Linked DNA regions of Homo sapiens: region 2 is linked to region 1. Evidence: promoter capture Hi-C in 16 types of primary human blood cells and fetal thymus (Javierre and others, 2016). All regions are on one chromosome and are shown on one strand. The core of a region is centred on a gene start or on the middle of the fragment in contact, and the rest is flanking DNA. Distances in the headings are between cores, read along the strand shown. Region 1 holds the start of HOXB-AS1 (HOXB cluster antisense RNA 1). Region 2 overlaps SKAP1 (src kinase associated phosphoprotein 1).

What was found. Contacts are between HindIII fragments. The CHiCAGO score rates a contact against its expected background, and 5 or more counts as called.
Region 2: a fragment that was not itself captured here is called in contact with the fragment with the promoter of HOXB-AS1 in region 1 in 1 of 17 cell types (total B cells); the score reaches 5.2 in total B cells.

The regions. Positions count from the first base shown.
Region 1 is chr17:48,542,381-48,547,480 of GRCh38, forward strand. It overlaps HOXB-AS1 (HOXB cluster antisense RNA 1), which reads left to right and starts at 1,971. Exons shown (of 7, transcript NR_102279.1): 1 at 1,971-2,032; 2 at 2,741-2,977; 3 at 3,115-3,184. HOXB2 (homeobox B2) reads right to left here and starts at 2,729. Exons shown (of 2, transcript NM_002145.4): 1 at 2,141-2,729; 2 at 275-1,367. The coding sequence starts at 2,531. The coding sequence ends at 688. RefSeq lists a silencer at 855-1,144 and an enhancer at 952-1,597. The HindIII fragment of the contact is 10,206 bases long and covers 1-3,511 here.
Region 2 is chr17:48,279,598-48,284,972 of GRCh38, forward strand. The region is part of intron 4 of SKAP1 (src kinase associated phosphoprotein 1); the gene reads right to left. Among named protein-coding and RNA genes, the nearest start is that of SKAP1-AS2, 12 kb to the right of the region's middle. The HindIII fragment of the contact is 3,099 bases long and covers 480-3,578 here.

The sequences.
Region 1 (5,100 bases), core at 721-3,220:
GCAGAGGCCCCAGAACCACCCGCTCAGGACCAAAGACCCTCTGCTGAGGGGCGGGGAGGTGACCCAGCTTCCTGCAAACTCCCGACTTTTGCCGGAGCCGTGGGCGAAGCGGCCATCAATCGGGTCACCTTTGTACCACCCGGACTTCGCCGGCCCTGGAGGCTTTGCTGCCATATGGGCCGCTGAACCTAATCAACTTCGCACAGGTCCTGGAGGGGTGAGGACCGGCCTTGGGGCCGCGGGGAAAGAGTTTAGGTCCCAACACAAACACTCGTTTTGGTATTATAAAGACATTTATTTAATCTATGAAAATAATGTACAATAAATACTTTCCCCTTTTCCTATTATTAAAGAATTTTAATAAATAATCTACAGTCTAAAACATAAAAAAGAGGAAAATAGGTCCCTCTAGTTATTTTTAAGAAAGTCCCCCTAGAGTTTAATTATTCCTGAGATTTCATTGGAAGGAGTCTACCAAACGGAATTTTTCTGTGTGAATTTTAAAAGATAACCGAGTGCCCAATATTTTAGAAGAAGAAGAAAGGGAGTGGATTAAACGCTAATTCAGTAATACCTGAATTTTAGCAAAACACATAAGTCTATGCGACTGAGGGTGGGAGAGGCTCGATTTTTCCAGTAGACGGCCAAGGAGCGCGGGGGTCGAAAGGACCGGGAGGAGGAAACAGGTTAGGGAAACTGCAGGTCGATGGCACAGAGCGTACTGGTGAAAAAATCCAGCTCTTCCTCGGAAAAAGGGACCGGGCTGTCGAGAGAACCCTGTAGGCTAGGGGAGAGGCCTCCGGATAGCTGGAGACAGGAGTCGGCCGCGAAGAAGTTGAGGTCGGGAAGGAAAGGTGAATCCTGGCGCCCCGAGAAGACGTCTTCTGGCAATGGCCCGGGCTCCAGCCCGCCGGCCCCGCGCAGCGCGCAGCCGGGACTCGACGCGCCTGCGCCCTCTAAGCGAACGGCTAAAGGCCGGGGGTCCGCGCTTAAGGCCCCCGGCACCACCTCCGGCGGGTGACAGCAGGCTTCCCACGCCGCCCGCGAGGCGGAGGGGCCGCCCGGGCTGGCCGCGGGTTCCTCGGCAGGGTCGCAGATGTCCTCCAGGGCTCCCGGGCAGGCAGGCTCCCCATCCGGCGGCTCTCGGTGCTGCGTCTGCCGCTTGTGCTTCATGCGCCGGTTCTGAAACCAGACTTTGACCTGCCTTTCGGTGAGGTCCAGCAAGGCCGCGATCTCGACGCGGCGTGGCCGGCACAGGTACTTATTAAAGTGGAATTCCTTCTCCAGTTCCAGCAGCTGCGTGTTGGTGTAAGCCGTGCGCAGCCTGCGCGCCCCGCCGCCACCAGCCTCCGGCAGTCCCAGGCCATCTGCAGGGAAAACAGGCTCGGCGTCATAGCGGGCCGTGTACTCAGCCCAACCTCAGTTCGGACTACCCCATCCTCCAAAACCAGTATCACCTCTCCCCTTCCTCGCCACCCCACCCCCGCCCCCACCCCAAAGCCGCTCGCTTTACTGCTTTTGGGTTTTCTTCTCTCCCTCTCTAGTCTACAGCCCCGGCCCGGGTCAGGGCAAAGCATTCAGAGCCGCCCACGGGCCACGCAGGGGGCGGAGAGCGGCTCCCTTCGGCGCCGGAACCTCAGATCCCCCTCCCAAGCCCTCCCAGTGGACCCCTCAATTCGGAACTTTCCAACTCAACCGGAGCGAGGGTCAGAAAGATTGTTCTTCACCCCTCTTCCTCCCTAGCTCTGAATTCTTCCTCTTCTCCTAGAGTTGGGGCAGAAAGGACCGAATCTTTTCTGCTTCTAGGGTCTATCCCAGCAACAACATACTCATTCCCCTACACAGATACGGGTGAAAACCTCAATCAAATCATTTTCTTCTAGCAGAAAAAAAGGCGTTTCCCCAACCAGCTTCCAAAATCAGCCATAGGGAGAGAAAGAGAGAGAGAGACAGAAAAAAAAAAAGACGCTGTTAGCGGCCAGGCCTGAACCCCAGTGGGATATTCTACTTCCCCATCCCAGGAATGGAGGGGGTAAGGAACCCCAACAGGCTCGCCACCATTTTTTTTAAACCTCCTTCCACTGCTTTTTCTCCCCCTCTTCTAGCTGCCCCTCACCCCACCCCCACCACGCTTACCGACCTGCAGGCGATCCGACCCCGGAGGCCGGAACGGCGGAGGCGGCCGGAGAAGGAGACGTGGCGGATTGGCTGGGTTTCTTGGCGGATTTCTTCTCTTTCATCCAAGGGAACTCGGGGGCCGGGGGGGCAGCGGGGAGTGGCGGCGGCGGTGGCGGCGGCAGAGCAGGCCCATCTTCGGCTCGCTTTTGGCTCCTGGGTCTCTGAAGGGTGGAGGCGCCGGGCTGGAGGCTGGGGAAGGTTTGCTCGAAAGGAGGAGGAGGAGGAATTAATGTCGACTCCTTGATTGATGAAGTTTGAAATGTCTCCAAGACAGCGGGGAAGGAAGTCAGACACTCGGCGAGCGACGGCTGGCTGTTTATAAACCCAATCTCCCTCTCAAATTCAAAATTCATGGCTTTCAATGGTGGGGGAGGGGGCTGCTGGGGGGGGCGTCAGGAGGGAGGATCGGAAGGGACCCCCCTCCTGCACCCCCCCCGATTTATGTAATGGAGCGATTTTGGGAGGGGGAGATTTCGGTCTCTCTTTTTTTTAATTTTGGGCCTTTATAATTGTATATTGCTGATAAATACAAGCGTATGGGGACTCTCTCTATTAAACCCAGGACTCCAGCGAAATTACAGGGAATTCGTGGTCACGGGACCGGCCTCCGCCAATCGCTCGTCTGGGCCTGGTGGAAAACAGAGAGCATTATTTGGTTTAATTGATTCAAAAACACCAGAGGACCACGACCAGGACACCATGAGCCCCCATTCCTACACCAGTGCCTCACATGCTCTCTCCCCAATGCCTCCGTTTCTCCAGAAAAGCTAGAGGAACCTTTTCCTCATCCCCTTCGAAGGTTAGAAGGTTTCAGAAGCCTGGAAAAGAAGAGACTCTAAGGGAGAAACCTTCCTCTTTTCCAAGTATTTTAATAGAGTAAATTAAGGCCTTCTTTACGTGGCCAGCAGCATCCCCTTCCCTTCTCCCCTTCCCCAGGAAAAGATGAGTGAGGATCTCCGCGTTGGAGGAAGAGGGAGTCGAAAGAGGCTTCCACTCTTTGAAAAAGGTCAGTATTAAGGTGAAAATAAGAAAGAGATTTACAATCATCACACCACTATCCCTGTTACCCTCCAAAAACAACAGTTAAATCTTGGGAAATGGACAGGAACTCCCAGGCAGACACATAGGAGTGAGATGGAGCATAAGGGGCATTTTTGGGCCTCTGGCCTCCATCGCTGTATGGTCTGGGTTCTCTTCTCTGCCCAGTGTTTGCAGCACTGCCTCTGCCCCTTATGTACCCCTGCTTTCCTCACTTTCAGGCTTCCATGCTTCTCTGTGACATCCCCCAAAAACAGGCAGAGTCTAAGATGTGCATGTACCCACTCAAGCCTCAAGCTTGTATCTGTATCCATATCCAGGGACATGAACAAGAACTGAGGTAGCCATTGGTTTAACTTAGAGCACTCTCAAAGTTCAGATCAGCGTTATGTGTGTGCATGAGTGTGGTGGGGAGATTTTCCCCTAGGACAAAGAGACTTTCCCTCCCATTTTTGCCATTGTGCTAGTTAAAAAAGAAAAAAGAAAAAAAAAAAAAAAAGAATCCCTGACAAGGAAGAATTCCCTGAAGATGGTAGGGGTGGAAATAATGACCACTGAGATGATATTCCATTTCTGGCTGCTGGGGGAAAATGTTTTTAAAATTTATTTTATTTTGAGGAGACCAAGATAGTCTGAAGTTTAGAGTGTTGTAATTTACTATGGGGAGAGGGCACAAGACTCTGAGCCCCAAGCAATTGGTGGGAAACTAGGCCTCAAAGCAGAAAATGAAAAGTCGATCTGGGGGAAGATTTTTAAATAAGTGGGTCAGACGGATGGAGAGGAGATGAGGCGATCAATCTTAGCCCCCTGACAGCTCCCTCCGATTGCATCAAAGAATTTGGCTCTTTGGGAAAGCAGAGCGAACAGCCAAAATTTCACATCCCTTAAAAAGGCCTGGGGGTGGGGGTGGGGGTGCAAAAGAGAAGGGTGATTCTGGGAGAGCTGGGAAACAGATGGGAAATGGGGACAGAGGGAAAGCGCTAAGTTGGGTGGAAAGTTTGCCTGGAGAACTCCCATGGCTTTGGCCTCCCCTCCCCCTCCTCTCTCTCTGCTGCCCAGCCAGGAGGAGAAGGCTGGTTAGCAGAGAAATGGCAACTGAGCCCGGAGCTGGAACTAGAAACTTTCTGTCAGTGTAACATCTGCGTGAGTACTTAAAAAGAAGGACAGAGAAGTCTGAGTAGAAGCATGAGGGTGGGGGAGAGGAGGATGGAGAAAGGGGAGTTGGAGGTGGGGGCTGCAGGGACCGAGGAGGCATGCTCTGGAGGGCTCAGAACAGAGAGAGCTGCTCTGACCTGGGCAAAGTGGCCAGCGACAGTAGTGTGCAACTAGGCTCCAAAGAAAACAATTTTTGCCATTTAGAGGTGTGGATGGGGGTGGGCATAGAATAATCCAAATAGTAGCTGTCTGGAAGTCATGCAGGGAGGCCTGAGAGTGGGTTCTCCCTCTGGCCACCCCCTTGAACACCTCTGAAAGTTTAGCAACAGCTTCTGTAGCTGGCTGAAGGATCCAGAGCTTATCTCAGGCAACTCGGGCAGACTGTCCCTGCAGGAAATACAGCTCTCTCTAACCCTCACTGACAGATTTTATGGCCAGATTAGCAAACAGCGGAAAACTTGGGTGTTAAAAGGGGCCCAGAGAACCCTCCTTTTCAGAGACATCCCTCCCCCGCCCCCCTGTCCTGCTGTGAATTTAACAGCACGGATATTTTACCCACGTCTTTGGCTGCTTTAGCTGAGCGCCTGGAATCTTCCAAAGAGAAGGATAGGGAACACCAAGCCAAGTTGGTTCTTATTTTTCTTGTTTGCAATTCCAGCTTCGAGCCAAAGCTCTGTTTTTCAAACTTAAGCTAAATTCTCTTTCTTGGCCTCTTTCCTGCTAGATAAA
Region 2 (5,375 bases), core at 779-3,278, 260 kb before region 1:
AAAATGAATTTTTTTCTAAAAGCCTAATTATGTGATAAATTCCACTGCCGAGAAATTGAAGCCACTTGGGTGTCATGAATGTGTAAACATGTTAATTCGAGGGCTGTGTTACCTAAAGAAGTATATTTCATTCCACTCTCTTAGCTTCCCTTTCCCCAACGGGGTCATCTCATCCATCTCCTCCATTCCTATGGCCCACCAACACTCTGTTCTTGGGTCTTTCTCTCTTCGTAGCCTGGGCCAGCTTCCATTTTCCCTAAATCCTTCTTTCCTGTGCTCACAGTTCCTTCTAAGAGCTTGTCTCCTAAGGCCAGCATTTAACCCAAGGTCCCTTTGCTATCTTCATTCCCTGGGGCCCTGTTGTCATACAGTTTTATCAGAAGAGAGCAGACAGAGAAGAAAATATACTTATTTCTCATGGAAAGAACTCATATATTGCTTGGTTCTAGAAAGAAAAATGATCTAAAGCAATAATAATAAGCTTGTTTATGGAAACTAGACAAATCAAAAAGAGTTCTGGAAAACATATTTTGTATGTTTGGTTTTAAATACTTTATTGAGATATAATTTACATAAAATACAATTCTTGGCCAGGCGCTATGGCTCATGCCTGGAATCTCAGCATTTTGGGAGGCAGAGGTGGGAGGATTCACCTGAGGTCAGGAGTTTGAGACCAGCATGGTACAACATGGTGAAACGCCGTCTCTACTAAAAATACAAAAATCAGCTGGCTGTGGTGGTGGGCGCCTGTAATTCCAGCTACTTGGGAGGCTGAGGCAGGAGAATCACTTGAACCTGGGAGGCAGAGGTTGCAGTGAGCCGAGATCTGCACTCCAGCCTGGATGACAGGCTGCACTCCAGCCTGGGTGACAGAGTGAGACTCTGTCTCAAAAACAAACAAAAAACAACAACAAAAAATGACACACAAAAAACACAATTCTTTTTAAATGTACAGTTTAATGAATTTTGACAAATATATACATATATATATAGTAGTTGTATAACCACTACCAAATCAAGATATAGAATATTTCCATCACTCTGAAAAGCTCCTTTTTGCCCCTTTGTAGTCAATCCACTCTTTCTATCACTGGCCTTGCCAATCATTGATCTATTTTTGTGTCTATAGCTTTGACTTTTTAGGGATGTCAAATACATGAAATCATATAGTATCTAATATTTTATGTCTGGCTTTCTTTAATTAGCATAAAACCTTTAAGATTCATCCATGTAGTTGTGTGTATCAGTAGTTTATCCCTTTTTATTGCTGAATAGAAACACAATTTGTTTATCTACTCACCAGTTGATGGATACTTGGGTTCTTTTCAGTTTCAGTGAATAAAGCTGTTATAAACACTCAAGGCAGAACCTGTACTCAGACTTAGGCAGTCTAAACCCAGAGCTCAGGTTTTTTTACTTTTTTATTTTTATTTATTTTTTATTTTTTGAGATGGAGTCTTGTTCTGTTGCCAGGCTGGAGTGCAGTGGCGTGATCTTGGCTCACTGCAATCTCTGCCTCCTGAGTTCAAGCGATACCCCTGCCTCAGCCTCCCAAGTAGCTGGGATTACAGGCACATGCCACCATGCCCGGCTAATTTTTTGTATTTTAGTAGAGATGGGTTTTCACCATGTTGGCCAGGATGGTCTTGATCTCCTGACCTCGTGATCCACCCACCTCGGCCTCTCAAAGTGCTAGAATTACAGGCGTGAGTCACTGCACCTGGCCCAGAGCTCAAGTTTTAAAGCACTTCAGTCTACTGGTGCCCAATAAGAAACCATGAAGCTCTTTGTCATTGTCATGGCACTCCCTGATGGGGTTCTTCTCACTGCTCCTAGTGCCTGTGATGCTCTCCAAGTGGAGACTGCCTGATCGCACATCAAATGCTGCTCATTTAGGCTGGCAGGCAGAGGCAGCGTGCTTTCAAATTGTGCTTTAAAGAAAAACCTTTATATTTCCAAACAAATTAAGGGAATTTACTTGTAAGGAAAATCTAATTTAGGTATCTTTAAAAGGAGAGGTTTAGAAAATAAGAAATTAACACTGTGGCCACCATCTAGTGATCCATGGCTTAAGTTTTAACATGGCACTGAAAACTTCTCTTACCCATAAGTGTTGATCTAGTATAATTTATTATCTTTGGAACAGTATAAGTTTATTATAAAATCAATGAGAAAATATATGCCATTAGGCATGCCCTCATACTCATATTGTTTAGAAAAACAATAAAACAAAAACAGACAAAAAATAAATATTAATATTTACTAGTTTATGGACAGGCAAGACAACTTTTTAAAAATCCTAGTTTATCTAATGCATATATTTTTAGTACTGCAGCAATAAGGAAAACCTGAAGAACAACAGCTAAGTGTAACTAAGAGTACATATTCTACAGTTAAAAAAATCACACAAGCATTTACTTGATTCTTCATGCACCGATAAGAATGGTAAAGAAAACAGAAATCCCAAAATAATATAAGTTTGTCTCAGCTAACAATATCATTTGGAAAATTCTTATGTTTACCCAAAGTTGAACTGCACTTAATACTTTCTTTTATGCCTTTCTGTTTCATTTTATTAGATTAAGAAATTATAAAAAGTTTAAACATGTACAAATGTATAGAAAATAATGTAATGAACCTCCTGTAGCTATCATCCAGCTTCAACAATTATCAACTCATGGCCAATTCTGTTTCCTCTATTTTCCTCCATTCATTCCTCACCTCTACCCAAACTAATGCCTTATTTTTTTTAACTTTGTACTTTGAAATAATTTTAAGTTTTCAGAAAAGTTGCAAAAATAGTACAGAGTTCTCATCTATCCTTCACCCTGTTCCCTCAAAGCTAACATATTGCATAACCACAGTATAACTATCAAAACTAAGAAACTGCTTTTGGCTGGGCAAGGTGACTCATGCCTGTAATCTCAGCACTTTGGGAGGCCAAGGCAGGAGGATTGCTTGAGCCCAAGAGTTCAAGACCAGCCTGGGCAACATAGTGGGACCTCAGCTCTACGAAAAAGTAAAAAGTCAGCCAAGCATTGTGGTGTACGCCTGTAGTCTCAGCTACTTAGTAGGCTGAGGTGAGAGGATTGCTTGAGCCTAGGAGGTCAAGGTTGCAGTGAGCCAAGGTCGTCTCGCTGCACTGCTGCTGCCTCAGTGACAGAGCAAGATCTGGTCTCAAAAAAAAAAGAAAGAAAAGAAAAAAAGAAACTGCCCTTTTTTTTTGGTAAGGAAAATTGCACATTTTTGTGCTCCTCTGATAAATGCAAACCCACCCATCTGAGGGAACAATAACTACAAAATGCCATCCACTCTTAGCAATTATGTAATTCCATGTAATTATTTTCTCAGTTTGGCTAAAAAAAGCAAGTACTTTGAGATCTCTAAAATAGTCACAAACTAGTGCATTTTCTAGTTAAGAAGATGTTTGGGAGAGTCAAACTCTTATTTCAGAGACAGAATATAATTTAATAATTACCTGAATACAGAAACACCAATGAAGTTGTGGCTTAGACGTGTTGGGCATTTGTAAAATATAGGTAATATCAAGAGACTCCTGCTGTGAGTCAAGACAAACAAGCTTCCCCCTGCCACCCAGCATAACTGATGAGAGAATGCAGAGAAAAGTGATTAGAGTAGACTATGATACAGAGCTGGAGAAAGTTTCCTAAGGGAAGACATGTTTAAAGTTGTATCTAAAATTCAGATGTAATAAGAAAAATAAAATAATAATAAAATTTAGATGCATATATCATTAAGGCAGCATAGCATAGTGCTTAAAGCCAGGATAAACTCTGGAATCAGACTGCATGGGTTCAAATCACAGTTCAACTTCCTCTTGGTCTGTGACCTGGGGCAAGTTATTTAACCCTTTCAGACTCTGACTCTAGGTGCTTATAATAACCTCTGCCATCTATGGATGCATCAGCCTTGGTCCAATCAACCATACAGCAGAGATCATATGTCTGTTGACTTGGCTGACTGGCTATATTTCACTCTAACTATAATCTAGCAGCAGGCAGGGGGCAGGATCTCACTAACTCTTGAAGATCTTAGTGGTGGTGGATAGATTCCTCTTCTGAAGTGAGCGACGGCTGGATACAAGCTGCTGCTCCATTCTGTTTCCCTCTGGGTGGGAAATAACTTAGGAATAAGGAGGACAATGTGCTCTCAGTCTGCCTAACTGGCCCTTCTGTCTGGGCATCTTGTACCTAGCTAGTTCCCCAGGGCAGAAGTGGGACTCTAGCCAGCCTCCTCTTCTGAGATCAGACTGTACTTCCCTCCCTGATTAATGTCCCAGACTCTCACCTGTCATTCTTGGAACACCATGATTACTCAGTTTATTTCAATGCCATTCTCTGTCTACTCCTCTTAGAATGCCTGGGATGTAACTTTGAAATTGTTTGCCCAGCCTAAACTCAGCTCACAGGTAAAGGAGCTGCTCCCTCCCTTTCATATTGCTAAGATTTCCTTTATCTCTCCACTTGCTTCCCCCTCCTTCCTGCTAAATCCCACACAGTCCCTTCTCCTAGTAAGAGCTGCCAACTTGTTGACTGGCCAATTCAACTCCATTTATGGCAAACATTTGTAGTTGTTCTGATTTTAATGGGGCTACCCTTTATAATAATGTTTTTAAAAAGTAGGTCACGAATAGAACCAATAAAGATAAGAAATAATTTCTGGAGGCCAATTTCTCTTAAGACATTCTATATCAAATAAAAACTTTATGGTGGGTTTGAAACACTGAAACAGACCACTCATGAGTAGTTATTAGAACATGGAGGAAAAACTGTTTGCCATTTTAGCATAGGTAATTTACAAAATGTCATTCTTTTCAATGTACTCAGAGGCACATGGGCCTATGGTGGGTTCTGCCAATTTCAAAGGTGATGATCTATGAAGGAGATTTGGATATGAGTACACAGGTGACTTCTATGTTCAGACATACTCTGTCATCATGTTCAAAAACAGCTTCCAAAAAGCACAGTTGGCATGTTGTGAGAAAAAATACACTTATATTCAATATATCCCTTTTTTATAAGTAACGCAGGGATCTATACATCTTTGACAATTTTGCTCTCACCTTAACTAGAGAACATATCTATGTCAACTAGCATATATTTTAGCAGTTGTAGAAGGTTGGAAATCTTAAAGGAAACCAGACTTTAGCCAAGTCTGGGAGGACCTGCCTTTCAGGGGCTGCTAAAGAATTGGTGGAGACATACATGGTAAGACTGAAAGCATTTGGATTTTCTTCACAATTCAACACAATTCTCCTATAGTAGTCATTAAACTCTGATCAGGTTACCAGATTGGTAGTTTTCAGCACACTGAAATTCTTAGTTGCTGAGATTTATGAAAGCCATATTGAAAGA